Regions from separate parts of the Homo sapiens genome. Here all the other regions are linked to region 1. The links are contacts of gene promoters, found by promoter capture Hi-C in blood cells and fetal thymus (Javierre and others, 2016). All regions are on one chromosome and are shown on one strand. Each heading gives the region's core, a stretch centred on a gene start or on the middle of the fragment in contact. The rest is flanking DNA. Distances are from core to core; before and after follow the strand shown. Region 1 holds the start of SLIT2 (slit guidance ligand 2). Region 2 overlaps LOC105374510 (a long non-coding RNA gene). Region 3 overlaps LOC105374510 (a long non-coding RNA gene). Region 4 has its middle 250 kb from the start of LINC02438. Region 5 overlaps LINC02438 (long intergenic non-protein coding RNA 2438).

Evidence for each region. Contacts are between HindIII fragments. The CHiCAGO score rates a contact against its expected background, and 5 or more counts as called.
Region 2: a fragment that was not itself captured here is called in contact with the fragment with the promoter of SLIT2 in region 1 in 1 of 17 cell types (total B cells); the score reaches 5.1 in total B cells.
Region 3: a fragment that was not itself captured here is called in contact with the fragment with the promoter of SLIT2 in region 1 in 5 of 17 cell types (endothelial precursors, total B cells, M2 macrophages and 2 more); the score reaches 12.2 in endothelial precursors.
Region 4: a fragment that was not itself captured here is called in contact with the fragment with the promoter of SLIT2 in region 1 in 2 of 17 cell types (M2 macrophages and M1 macrophages); the score reaches 7.5 in M2 macrophages.
Region 5: a fragment that was not itself captured here is called in contact with the fragment with the promoter of SLIT2 in region 1 in 1 of 17 cell types (M1 macrophages); the score reaches 5.3 in M1 macrophages.

Annotation. Positions count from the first base shown.
Region 1 is chr4:20,250,598-20,253,320 of GRCh38, reverse strand. It overlaps SLIT2 (slit guidance ligand 2), which reads right to left and starts at 1,416. Exons shown (of 37, transcript NM_004787.4): 1 at 1-1,416. RefSeq lists an enhancer at 1-300. The HindIII fragment of the contact is 6,723 bases long and covers 1-2,471 here.
Region 2 is chr4:18,673,936-18,676,658 of GRCh38, reverse strand. The region is part of intron 2 of LOC105374510 (a long non-coding RNA gene); the gene reads right to left. Among named protein-coding and RNA genes, the nearest start is that of LCORL, 650 kb to the right of the region's middle. The HindIII fragment of the contact is 1,498 bases long and covers 568-2,065 here.
Region 3 is chr4:18,690,594-18,693,316 of GRCh38, reverse strand. The region is part of intron 2 of LOC105374510 (a long non-coding RNA gene); the gene reads right to left. Among named protein-coding and RNA genes, the nearest start is that of LCORL, 670 kb to the right of the region's middle. RefSeq lists an enhancer at 716-1,649. The HindIII fragment of the contact is 6,213 bases long and covers 1-2,723 here.
Region 4 is chr4:19,202,679-19,205,401 of GRCh38, reverse strand. No RefSeq gene overlaps it. Among named protein-coding and RNA genes, the nearest start is that of LINC02438, 250 kb to the left of the region's middle. The HindIII fragment of the contact is 6,133 bases long and covers 1-2,723 here.
Region 5 is chr4:19,247,402-19,250,124 of GRCh38, reverse strand. All of the region lies in intron 2 of LINC02438 (long intergenic non-protein coding RNA 2438), which reads left to right. Among named protein-coding and RNA genes, the nearest start is that of LINC02438, 210 kb to the left of the region's middle. The HindIII fragment of the contact is 2,936 bases long and covers 1-2,723 here.

The DNA of each region.
Region 1 (2,723 bases), core at 167-2,666:
TGGGCTCCGGAAGCTAGAAGGCGCGGAAGCCCAGCGGGCCCGTAGCAGAGCGCGCGGGGCAACTGGGCATGGCGCGCGGGGGTGCACGGGGCGGACGCGCAGTTCTGGGGGCGCACGGCTCTGGACTCTGCTCACTCACGCGGCCTCTCCCTCGCCCTCGACTCCGCCGCAGCCTGGACCGGTCCTCGCGGTCTCCCGACAGCCAACGATGGTTTACAAACACACATGCACTTCGCTGAAGGATGTCTGGGCAATCCCGCCTCCCGCTCGGCGTCCTTGGCGACGCTCTGCACCAGGACCTGCCCCGAGGTCACGCAGAAAAGACAAAAGGGCAGTCGGGCCGCCGCAGCCGGGCAGAAATATCCACTAGTCAGCACTCCGGCGAGGAACTCCAAGAGGCCAAGTGGAGGATGAGAGCTGCTGCGAAGACTGAGTGGGGACTGACTGGGGGCGGACTTAAAAACCAGGCAGACCGGAAGGAGTGGAAAGGCAAAGGCCAAGGTTGGAGGTGTCAGCGTCCTGCTGGGGCGTACTGGAGAATGGCTCGGTGGCAGGTGGGCGGGTGGGATCCACTACTCCAGGCAGAGCCAGGCGGCAGCTGAATGGCAGTAGTGTGTGCGCGCGTGTCAACCCCGCTCGTCTCCCAGATAAGCCGCAGCTCCGCGGCAGACACCTGATGGCAAAGGTAGAAGAAACAAGAGCCGGGTTCCGGAGGGCGCAGAGCCACGGCCGGCCCCCGGCGGTCTCCCACTAGTGGTTCGTCCTTCTCAAAGTGCAGCAACTTTTCCCAGGCTTTGAATTCCGTCCCCCAAGGCCACAGTGGCGGTACCCCTGCCGGCGTGGCGACGCCGCCCGGCTCCTGGCGCTGCACCTGACGCGGCGGCCGCAGTCCCGGGTAGTCCTTCTCCTTCTAGCCCCTTCCCCTCTCCCGCTGCTTTCCTGGCCTCCCGCTCCAGGGAGCGAGGTCGGGGAGAGGGAGGGCGACGACTCAGAGCGGGGACTCGGTGGCTCTGCCGACTCCGGAGCCCCTGGCAAGTGTCTAAACAATAGGACGGACGCAGCAGCCCAAGTCTCGCTTGTCTGGAAGGAAGGTGGGTTGTTGTCGTAACTGGAGTTGTTCGCTGGGGCTGACTGGCGCTCAGCGTAGCCAAACAAAAACCCGGCCCGCGCCTCCGGAGCCGGCTGCGGGCCCCCGGCGCTCCCCTTTCTGCTCAGCACTCCCGCCGTGCCCAGAAAGCGCGGCAGCTTCGGCCTGCGCCTGGGCGCTTCGGCGCTCCCATGCCTCGCAGCTGCCTCCGCCTCCGCCGCCGCCGCCGCCGCCGCCTTCTTTTTTTTAACCACAGTCTGCGGCAGCCACCACCACCGCCGCCGCCAAGCTCCGCCGTCCGGGCGCTTCCCAAATAAATAACACCAAGTCCGAAGTTGAGCCGGCGCGGGCCTTATATAGCCGCCCGAGCCTCCGCCCCCTGACCCCGCCCCTCGAGGCCCAGGCCCGCCCCCTGGCTCCGCTCTGGGAGCCCGCACCTCGCTGGGGAGAGGGGAGAGGTGAGGCCGGGGCTGCCAGCGCTGGGCGGAGGCGGCGGCTGGCGGCGCGCGTTCCCGTGCGCCCTGGCTCGCCCCCTCGCTCCCACGCGCGGGCAAACTTGGCCCGAAGAAGGAGCCACCCGAGCCCCAGCCCCCAACTCCTTGGCCCCAGAGGTGACCTGGGCTCGGAGATAGTCGTTTGCAGTGGGAGAATGGGAAGAGGTCGGCTTTGAACGCGGCTCATAAATAAACAGCCCTGCCAGTGCCTCTCCTGCAGCTTTTGCCACGCGATCCTTAAGGGGGCTGCTCACTCTTTGCAGCGCAGCAAGAGACAGAGAGACAGAAACAGAGAAATTATGATTTAAATTTAAGAAAAATCCTACCGAAATAGATCTGCCTGCGCTTACAGACACACACGTGTATTTTGGGGAGCTGAAAAGTTCAGTTTTTGCAAGTTGGAAAACAGCATTTTCCAACCTTCTTGCTTGCCTTTCTATCTCCAAGCCACCCCCTTCCGTTTAACCCTTCCTTTGTAGACACACACTGAACCACACCGTGGTCAGTTGATGTCTTGGATATTCAATAGGCTCACAAAACTCTTAAGGGCTTGAACGTATCTGTGTGATTTTTTACTCTCTTATGAGAGAAAGGAGGGGAAAAAATAAATCCCTAGCAACGCACATTATACCAGAAGGTTTTCTTTATTTCAGGGCAGTTCTGGATATTTTTTTCCCCGCTATGTTTTGAAAGAGAATTTCCTTGTTTCATCTTGTCTCTTTAGTGTGACGTATGTCTGGCAACGGCTGCCTCTCTCGCCCCCCTTTCCCCCCCAGCAAGAGCCAATGTCACTGTAAGTTTGAAATGACATCTAAATGACTCTGCTCCTTCTCTTGGATTTAATATGCATCATATTGTTGTTCTTCCTCCCATTTCCACGTTAAGAAGCTTTCCCTGGAATTTGTGCAAGCCCCCGCCTAATACCAGCCTCATATTGTAGTAGTTATTTGTATAATTATTAGAAGCTTCCTTGAAAGCAAGACCTGTCCAACTCTTTGTATTTCCAGCATCTATGCCTGCCACATAATAGGTTTCCTCATAAGTAACCGATTTCTTTAACTCAAGAGTATGCTCAACCTAAAATCTCTGCAATATCCTCATTAACGTTTTTCCTGGTTAACATTTTCTAAGATGTCCTTTCA
Region 2 (2,723 bases), core at 67-2,566, 1.6 Mb after region 1:
AAAAATTGTCTTCACAGAGGGCTCTTGTGTGGACTAGAGATAGCGAATATAAGTTGTAGGCAACGAATAACAGGTAGCTATTTTGAATATAGAAGCAGGACGCTTCTATCTCACATAAGTTTATATTTCACTTTAATTGTTGAGAAAGCCCTGGGTTGGTGTTTTCAATTGGATGCAGTCATTCAAGGAGCTGATTTTATAGCCTTAAGTATTCATTGAGTCAAGAATTATTATGGCTGCATTTTTTGTAAAGGCTGAATAATTTTATTGCCATCAATGAGATTGGTAGCTGAGGAAGCTGAGGCAATGATGAAAATAATTAAATCATGTGCTTCAGGGCACAAAGCAATCAAATACAGATGAATGGAAAACAATTTTGCATTCCTCTCTGATCCTTTTGAGCTTCTTTTATCACCCCCTCCACCCTTCCAAAACCCAATACCACCACTGGCTGAGAATATGGCGCAACTGTGTCTTTCACCAGAGGCTTAGTGAGCTGTGGTTGCTGTAGCCAAACAGGATAGGGTCCAGGCAGACCAGATGATGAGATTCTGCCAGAGACAAGCTTTATTTCTTTGGCTCCCCTCCTCCTTTAACTGACTGTGTGAGGATTTCTAGTAGCATTATTTATTATAATTAATTGTTTCACTTCACTGATCAAAAGCTGCTTCCAAATCTGATCCAAGGACAAGAACAGTCCCTGAAATTCATGGATCTTGACATTACAAGCCCCATAAACCTTCAATGAGGAAAGACTGAACTTGTGTGTAGCAATGCCCTTGGTGCACTTTTGCAGACCATAATCAACTTTCTGTACAGAGAAGTCGAAGTGTCCGGCTACATTTGGGAGCCTTTGATGTCGTCCCCTTCCTTACAGCTCTCAAATCAAACAATGCTCTTCTGTCTTAAGCTGTGGCTATCTCTGTAAATAGTCTCAGAGAAAGGCATCCTTGTAATTGCAACATATGCCAAATTGCTCTCTTCCAGATGATTAAAAAGAGCAAATTTAATTCCCCTGTGATATCAAATAGGCTATACCATTATCATGTCATGTTACATGAAGGCCACAAGAAACTCTATTTCAATATTCAGTGTCTTCAGTATAATTTAGAGATGATATTATGTTTAGACTAGTCCATCCCCAGCACTTACAAAAATAAAAAAAAGAAATAAAAATAATCATCTTCATTGGGATAGGCAACTAAGCTCTATGGAAGAGAAGATTACCACACCATAGTTTTGTAAGAACCATTCCAAAGATATGTTTACTAGCTATCTTTTCATTGGTTAGGGCTCAGCATGTAAAATGTAAGTGACTTGAAGGTAACCCCTCTATATCATACCTGTTTCCTTTGTCTTTGCAAATGTATAGCTCCACTCAAATTTAATAGTCCATAAATATTAGTTGATTGATTTACTGATTTGCAAAACACATGTTGTGCTCCCCTTTATCCTCAGGCTCTTCCTGATGTGAGTGTGAACCTCCTCCACTGGCCTAAACAGAGAAAAGAGACAGGACAGATATGAAGAGATTCAACTAAAGTGGAGGTGTGTGTTGAGGAGGTGGGGAGAATCAGCATAAGCAATCCATTAAGGACACTGGGAATCAGTGAAACATTCATCGCTCACATTGACTTTCCACTGGGAAGCTGCTGCAATATTCTCTTGCCCCTTCCCTGTGCAACCCTTCCAGTAGCATCCCCTGTGAATTATGTGGATATTGCATGGCCCTGACACTAGAACACCTTTGCTTCTTCCATTAAGACTTAGTTTTCTGAGAGGGAAGGCTGTGAGGCTGTAAGAAATTATCTCTTTAGTCCACAGATCTCCAAAATATAGGGATAGATTATGCTTTGTGATTTAGAATAGTGTTACATTTTTATTTAAGTTATCAGGAACCTTTTGTATTTGAGACTTGTATTTCAGAAAAGAATAAATCAGTATTTCTTTAGAGATATCAAAGATTTTTTAGATTTTTCTATGATATGTAATTCAGAGATAGAGAACTTTATCTGCTTCTAGCTAATATGCTAGATTGTCTTTTCTCAGTAACAATGGGAAAGCTTCCAATTGGGAAAAATTGTCACCCCGTTTCACACATAATGTATAAGGAAATGCTGAAATTCCTCTTCAGTAATCTCTATAGGAGAAGACAAATCTAATCCTCAAATGATTCAATGGTTACTTATTGAGTTTCTAATATAGATGGGGATGACTGCTTAGAGAAGTGTAAAGTTATAAGGAAGGTTTAAAAAGTGCTTCCTGTTTGCAGGGAGTTCATAATTTCATGAGAACAGAATACATAAATGTATAAGCTTATGGATTTATTCAAACACCTGTGCATCTGGCATTCCCAGTCCTAAGAAGTTGCAACACATTCACATAGCAACCCATGTTAGAATACCAGGAGTCACCATTGACTCCTTTGTCTCTCATTCCCCTGGCTAGCTGCTAGTCCCAAAGATCTATAGATTCTACCTCCTTAATAGCTCTAAATAAATTTCATCTACAACATCCTCCTGCCTTGGTTCAGAATTCCATCTTGCCTTAATTCCCAGAATAGCCTCCTAAGTAGTCTTTTTATGTCAACTCTCAAATACCTCCACCTCTCTAATCCATTCTCCACACTGCAACCAAGTTGATCTTTCTTAAATGAAGCTTAATTGACATTGTAATTCCCTTACTTGTACAGGACAAAATGTAAATAATTTAGCTTCATACAT
Region 3 (2,723 bases), core at 57-2,556, 1.6 Mb after region 1:
CTGGTATCAGGACAAAGGAAACATAACTTTATAGGAGATTTACAAAGTACACTTTCCTTCCATACCCTTTGTAAAAAAAAAAAAAAAAAAGAATAGTCAATTTGCATCACAGTCAGCTGAGAAATGAATAAAAGTATAGCCTTCAAGTACTTTTACAATGGTACCTAACCACGTACATGAACACACACACACACACACACACACACACACAGGAAATTTAAAAGATAATTTTGTAAGCATCAATCTTTTAAGGGTACTAAAATATCACTGGAATAAATTGAAAATACTATACTAATTACCTCAAGTTTCTACATATAACTCCTTATATAATTGATGAAATGGAAATTGGGATCACTCCAGCCAAAATCATGTCCTTAAGTGAAATTTTTTAGAAAATAAAATAAATTTTTCAAAGAGCCCACTTCTAATTGGTACCAAAATATAGACATCAACTATGGAGACATTATGGTATTAAAAACATATAGTAATGAGAAATAAAACTAAATATACTATAAGTTTGAAGAATTATTAAAGTTTATACACTTTAAAGCACATGAGACAATACTTTTTGCAAAGAATTATAACTAAAACATAATATATAAATATTCATATATTTATAATGGTAACATTATAATCACAATATAAAGTACACATTTACTATTAATATGGGTTTTAAATTTCAGATTTTATCAACAAAAATTGGGATTTGGTTTGAAAGTAGCAAAATAAAACCATGTTAGTTTCCATTGTATTCGGGAAGAGTATAGGTATAGAAACATATACATATGTTTTTTTCTTGATGATAATTTCAAAAAATGTCACATAAACTATACCTAAATACCCAAGGTAAATTCACAAAGAGAGGTGTGCATTGAATTGATGGGGCTGTAGTTTGCCTAAGCTGGTATTCAGATACCCGGAATACACACTGACCACTTATTCACCCCTATACTTTCTGGGTCCACATGCCTGGCCTTTTGTGGCTGGCTTGCCAAAATGGATTTAAGAAAATCTTTTTCCTGGGGCATCTGGAACTGAAAAGGTTGTGCTACCTGCTCTGAAATTTGCATCCTTCAGCAGTTTCGTGCAAATAAAGGATTTCCTCATCTGCTCTGTCCATCATCTGTGGTCTCTCTATGTCTGCTTCAAAATCACTTGGCAGTGGACACATTGACACTGCCCCTGCACCAACACCTTGCGCTCACCCCCACTGCATGCCACAAGCCCTGAACCTTCAACAGCTGCATTGTATTGTGCTTACAAAGTTCAAATTGCTGCTAAAATACCCTTTGGCGCTATTCCTCTGTTACAACATTTTGACTTATCTGGACCTGAGATGGCTCACGTGGCGATTTCTGGCCAGGCCCCCATGGTTTCCAGCCAACATTTGCAAATATAGTTAGGAAGACATCCTCTTCCCAGAGGTGTGCATCAGGAATAATTACAGAACTAAGAAATCTTCCATCTCACTAGTTCTGGTTAGTGGCCTTGAATCTGAGAGCCCCCTCTTGTGTTTAAATCAACTTACATTTGCATGCAAGTGTGTGTGGGGTTCCAGGAATTCATAACATGTCACATCTCACAACAAAGCCACCCTGTGAAGGACCAACCCAGCAGGACCTAGAAATGTATCCATGGTCCCCATCCTGCCCCCTGCTCAGAATTCTCACTCCCTGAATCACCTCTCAGACCGAGCCAGGTCTGCAGCGCTGTTAAAAAGCCACTGTATTTGCTTTCTTGCTTTCCCTTGCTTACTTTTCACACCTTTCCTGCTTTGGGGGGAGGTGATCCGGCTTTCAGATGTAAAAGAGCCGGCTTCTGAGCCCTGGGTTCCACCGAGGAGTGAAAGTAAACAGGAAGGGAGAAGGCTCACAGAAGTCTTTATAACCTGTATGTTAAATTATGTCAACAGGATGCTGAGAACAGGATCTGTTGAGGAAATTCCACAACTAAATAATGAAAGCTCCATGGTACCTGAATGGAGAGGTCTGGATGGTATTCCCTTTGATCTAACTACATAGTTATAAGAGAGCTTGAAGGAGAGAGTTTCGAAACAAAGAAAAAAAGTAACATTCGATAATCCAAAGAGTAAGGCTATTGGTTAGGGACGGCTAGACTTGGTTCCCACTTTAGAGGCTGAAACCAAGCCATGGCTTCAGAGAAACAGAGTTTCTTTTGATTCTGATTAAGAGTTTAGCTTTTGGGAGAAGTGATGTGTGGTGCTGGTTTTCCCACAGTGTTTTTGTTTTGTTTTGTTGTGTTTTTGTTTTTTTTTTTAAGTTTCTGTAAAGGAACTCACTTCAGCCTCAGAAGAACACATCCAAGTTAATAAAGAGATATGAGGGGCAAAAAAAATATTACCTCCCTCCTCACCTACTCTAGGGAACACATCCCCATGTGGGAATGCTTAAACTTCCCCCACAATCTTTCTCAGAGACATCAAAGGATGTTGACTTAGGTTTAATAGTTTACAATTGGAATTTGTCTTTATGAAAATGCAGGGCTGTGTAATTTATGGAAATTAAGCATGCATGCATCTCCATTGTGCTAGATGCATTATGATAGAGTAGGATTAGGCAGAAAGACAGGGACTTCATGACATATTAAAATACTTTGTGTCTAAACACTGCCCAGAGACTGAAGAGGGATTTAAAAAACGCTACTGTCCATGACAAGGGCGGGGGGATTTCAAGTGTGACCTAGTTTTGTTGTTGTTGTTGTTG
Region 4 (2,723 bases), core at 129-2,628, 1.0 Mb after region 1:
TCTGTATTAGTTTGTCTGCTTAACAATTTTAAATATATATAGACTCTGTGTATCAGCAGTGACCAATTTAGAATTATCTAGACTTGGCTTTGAATTGTGGGTTGGGCTTAACTCTGTTGCATGTGTTTTCCAATTTATTTATCTTTAGTCAGTAGTTATTCATGTCATGTTCATTTTATAGATGATCACAGGAACTTAAGAAAGCAAGGCAAGCCATGCCCACATGTTTAAGTCCACATCATATTTATTAATATTTTATTAAGCAAAAAAGGTCACAAAACCAAGACAGAAATCATGGCACTGGACAAATGTACTCCACCCATAGTGAAAGACACGCAAAGGTTCATAGCAAAGTAAGTGGATATAATCAGTTTACCACAATGCCATAACAAATTCAGCAAATTAAAGCATGTATGCTTTATAAGTGAAAAAATGCATATTATATTTCGAAGATTGACAATGATAATCCTAATTTTTGACCATGAGATGATAAGCAATGTTTTTCCATTTCTAAATATCATTTTATAGTCATTTTCTATATGGCAAAGTAGATTAAAATATAATAATATGAAAAATAAAATATCCTGTAAATTTATTGAACTAAGGGTAATTTTACTATGACACACCTCAGTGTGCTGAAAGCAAATGAAAAATTGTGATGGTCTTAATTGTTAGATTTGTGGTGAATACCCCATCTTTACCTTGGGCATCATCAACATACCACAAGTAATATTTTCCTTTTAGACATATGAACCTGATATGAAAACTAGGGTGAAAACATAAATATTCATAAAAATCATAAAGATCACAATAAATTTTCTATGAATCATTTTGTGAATACCATTTGGGAGACTACTTCATAGAGTAATAATTAAAAGCCTAGACTCTGTAAACCAGTTATTACTATTATTATTATTTATTTTAAGTTCCGGGATACATGTGCAGGATGTGCAGGTTTGTTACATAGGTAAGCATGTGCCATGGTGGTTTGCTTCACATATCAACCAATCACCTAGATATTCAGCCCAGCATGCATCAGCTATTTTTCCTCATGCTTTCCCTCCCTCTACCACCCCTCCCTGCCTGACTGAAGGCCCCAGTATGTGTTGTTTCCCTCAAGGTGTCCATGTGTTCTCACTGTTCAGCTCCCACTTTCAAGTGAGAGCAGGTGGTGTTTGGGTTTTCTGTTCCTGTGTTAGTTTGCTGAGGATAATGGCTTCCAGCTCCATCCATATCCCTGCAAAGAAGATGATCTCATTCTTTCTTATGTCTGCATAGTATTTCGTGGTGCATATGTACTACATTTTCTTTATCCAGTCTATCATTGATGGGCATTTGAGTTGATTCCATGTCTTTGCTATTATGAATAGTGCTGCAGTGAACGTATGGACACATGTATTTTTAAAATAGAATGATTTATATTCCTTTGGGTATATACCCAGTAATGGGATTGCTGGTTCAAATGGTATTTCTGTTTCTATATCTTTGAGGAATCACCACACTGTCTTCCACAATGGTTGAACTAATTTAAATTCCCACCAACAGTGTAAAGTGTTCCTATTTCTCTACAGCCTTGCCAGCATCTGTTGTTTCTTGACTTTTTAATAATTGCCACTCTGACAGTGTGAGATGGTATCTCACTGTGGTTTTGACTTGCATTTCTCTAATGATCCGCGATGCTGAGCTTTTTTCCATGTTTGTTAGGTGCAAAATCTCTTCTTTTGAGAAGCATCTGTTCATGTCCTTTGCCCACTTTTTAATGGGGTTGTTTGTATTTTTCTTGTAAATTTGTTTAAGTTCCTTGTAGATTCTTGATATTAGACTTTTGTCACACAGGTAGATTGCAAAAATTTTCTCCCAATCTGTAGCTTGCCTGTTCACTCTGATGATAGTATCTTTTGCTGTGCAGAAGCGCTTTAGTTTAATTAGATCCCATTTGTCAATTTTGGCTTTTATTGCAATTACTTTTTATGTTTTAGTTATGAAATCTTTGCTCTTGCCCATGTCCTGAATGGTATTGCTTAGATTTTCTTCTAGGGTTTTTATAGTTTGGGGTTATAAATTTAAGTCTATAATCCACACTGACTTAATTTTTGCATAAGGTGTAAGGAAGGGTCCAGTTTCAATTTTTTGCATATGACTAGCCAGTTCTCCCAGCACCATTTATTAAATAGGAAACAGTTTCTCCAACACTTTTTTGTCAGGTTGGTCAAATATCAGATGGTTGTAGATGTGGGGTCTTATTTTTGAGTTCTCTATTCTGTTGCATTGGCCTATGTGTCTGTTCTTCTACCAGTGCCATGCTGTTTTGGTTACTGTAGCCTTGTAGTGTAGCTTGAAGTCAGGGAATGTGATGCCTCCAGCTTTGTTCCTTTGCTTAGGATTGTCTTGGCTATCTGGGCTCTTTTTTTGTTCCATATGAATTTTAAAGTAGTTTTTTTCTAATTCTGTGGAGAATGTCAATGGTAGTTTAATGGGAATAGCATTGAATCTCTACATCACTTTGGGCAGTATGGCCATTTTCATAATGATTCTTCCTATCCATGAGCATGGAATGTTTTTCCATTAGTTTGTGTCCTCTCTGATTGCCATGAGCAGTGGTTTGTAGTTCTCCTTGAAGAGGTCCTTTACTTCCCTTGTTATCTGTATTCTTATATGTTTTATTCTCTTTGTAGCAATTTTGAATGAGAGTTGTTTAATAAGTTTGAGTTTCATTTTTTTCT
Region 5 (2,723 bases), core at 128-2,627, 1.0 Mb after region 1:
AGATACCCTAAATCACCTCTCTCAAGTTCAAAGTTCCAAAAATCTCTAGGGCAGGTGCAAAAAGCCGCTAATCTCTTTGCTAAAACATAACAAGAGTTACCTTTGCTCCACCATCAACAAGTCTCTAGGAGGTTCCAAACTTTCCTACATTTTCCTGTCTTGTTCTGAGCCCTCCAAACTGTTCCAGCCTCTGCCTGTTACCCAGTTCCAAAGTTGCTTCCACATTTTTTGGGTATCTTCAGCAATGCCCCATTCTACTGGTCCTAATTTACTGTATTAGTCTGTTTTCATGCTGCTGATAAAGACATCCCCAAGACTGGGAAGAAAAAGAGGTTTAAGTGGACTTACAGTTCCACTTGGCTGGGGTGGCCTCAGAATTACGGTAGGAGGTGAAAGGCACTTCTTACATGGTGGCAGCAAGAGCAAATGAGGAAGAAGCAAAAGCAGAATCCCCTAATAAACCCATCAGATTTTGTGAGACTTATTTACTATCACGAGAATAGCATGGGAAAGATTGGCCCCCATGATTCAATTACCTCCCCCTGGGTCCCTCCCACAATACGTGGGAATTCTGGGAGACACAATTCAAGTTGAGATTTGGGTGGCGACACAGCAAAACCATATCAAATCCCAAGACACAAACAGACTGCCACAGAGGCATGTGGCCCTGCAGCATCTGCCTGTACCTGTGACTGGCCTGATGGCTGGTCTGGTGGTGCCCCCCTCACTCTGAAGAGATAGCCTGACAGCCACTGGGCGGTTGCACCAACATATGCCCAAGCCTTGCCCAACAACCAGCCTGGAAGTTCCTACCACCTCCCCCAAAAGCCCTACAGACAGCCTGTTGGCTTTCTGTATCTGCACATGCCTAGCTCAACAACCAGATGCACAGATATCAATTTGGGGACATAAGAAACAAAAACAAAAAAAAGGCAGGAAAACATTGTCACCCTCCAAAAAAACAATACCTCTTAAGTAAAATAACTCGCCATTTATTAAATGCCTGAAAAGGAATTCAAATTGATAATCATAAGGAAAGTCGGGAAGTTACAAAAGAACACAGTCAATTTAATAAAATCAGGAAACAGTTCATGATCTAAATAAGGAATTTTGATAGATATCATAAAAAAGAACAAACTAAATGATGGAGCTGAATAAGTCAATGAATTAAGTTTTAAAATACAATTGATAGAGAGACTGATATGTGAGCGTTCATGTTGCCCTGCATGGGAATTTTGTGAAGAAGCTAGATAAAAGGGAGGGGGATAAAAGCAAGGAGAATACAGAGACTCTAACCAGACAATCCCTCCACGTGGGGGGTGGCAAAAGAGTTATGGCCTAAAATCTGGATGATTCTGAGCAAGACAGTGTGGAATCCCAGGACATGGGATCCTTGGAAAGAAGGGGAGGATAGTGAGAATGATATGGAGGTGACAGAAACCTGAGGGCCTTTCCACAGTGTGTCTGACAGTACACTGGAAGGCAAAAGCCAAGAACATCATGCCATTCAGTTGGCTTCAAAATAAATAAATAGATAAATAAAATTAAGAGCTTCAACAACACATTATATCAACCAAAAGAAATAATGCAATCAGAGGAAAAATAAAGAAATAAGAATTAAAAACAAGGAAAGAAGAAATCCTAAAAGGCTTGTGGGATCATTAAGCTGACAATTTTTTTTATTACTATTATATGAGTACTAGAGAGAGAATAGGTGGAAAAACGTGCAGAAACCCTATTCTGCAAAATAATAACTGAAAACTTTCTAAGTGGTGAGATGGATATGAACATACAGATTCAGGAAGCTCAAAAGCCCTAATTATATTCAATACAAACTCTCTGAAGAACATTATAATCAAACTGTCAAAAGCCAAAGATAAAGAGAGATTTCTAAAAGCAGCAAGAGAAAGTGTCAACTCACGTATAAAACAGTCACCTTTACAGTATCATCACATTTCTTAGCAGAAACCTTGCAGACGAGGAGAGAATGGAATCATATATTCAAAGTGCTCAAATAAAGCAAATAACTGTCAGCCAATAAAACTATTCCAGCAAAGCTATTCTTCGGAAATAAAGGAGAAATAAAGGCCTTTCCTGACAAAAAAAAAAAAAAAAAAAAAAAGCAAAGAGAATTCACCATTAGACTGGCCTGATAAGAATTGCTTAAAGAGTGCTGCAACTGGAAACAAAGGATAATGATCACTATCATGAAAACACATGAATGTATAAAACTCACCAGTAGACATAAAGTTATAACTTATACCCAGAATACCCCAGTGATGTAATGGTGCTATGTACATCTTTCAATTGTCTAGTATGAAGTTTTGAAGTAAAAATAGTAAAAAAAACACTTTGGGAGGCCATGGTAGGTGGATTACCTGAGGTCAGGCCAACATGGTGAAACCCTGTCTCTACTAAAAAATACAAAAATTAGCCAGGTGTGGTGACGGGTGCCTGTAATCCCAGCTACTTGGGAAGCTGAGATCGGAGAATTGTTTGAACCCGGGAGGTGGAGGTGGCAGTGAGCCAAGAGCACACCATTGCACTCCAGCCTAGGCAGCAAGAGCAAAACCCCATCTAAAAATAAATAAATAAATAAAAGTAAAAATCAACAGATTCAATTGGTGGCTAAGAAACAATAATAGATAAGCAAATTATGGCAACACAAATATAAATTGTGGGGAAAGGGAAATAATATAGAGTCTTTTTATATGACCAAATTT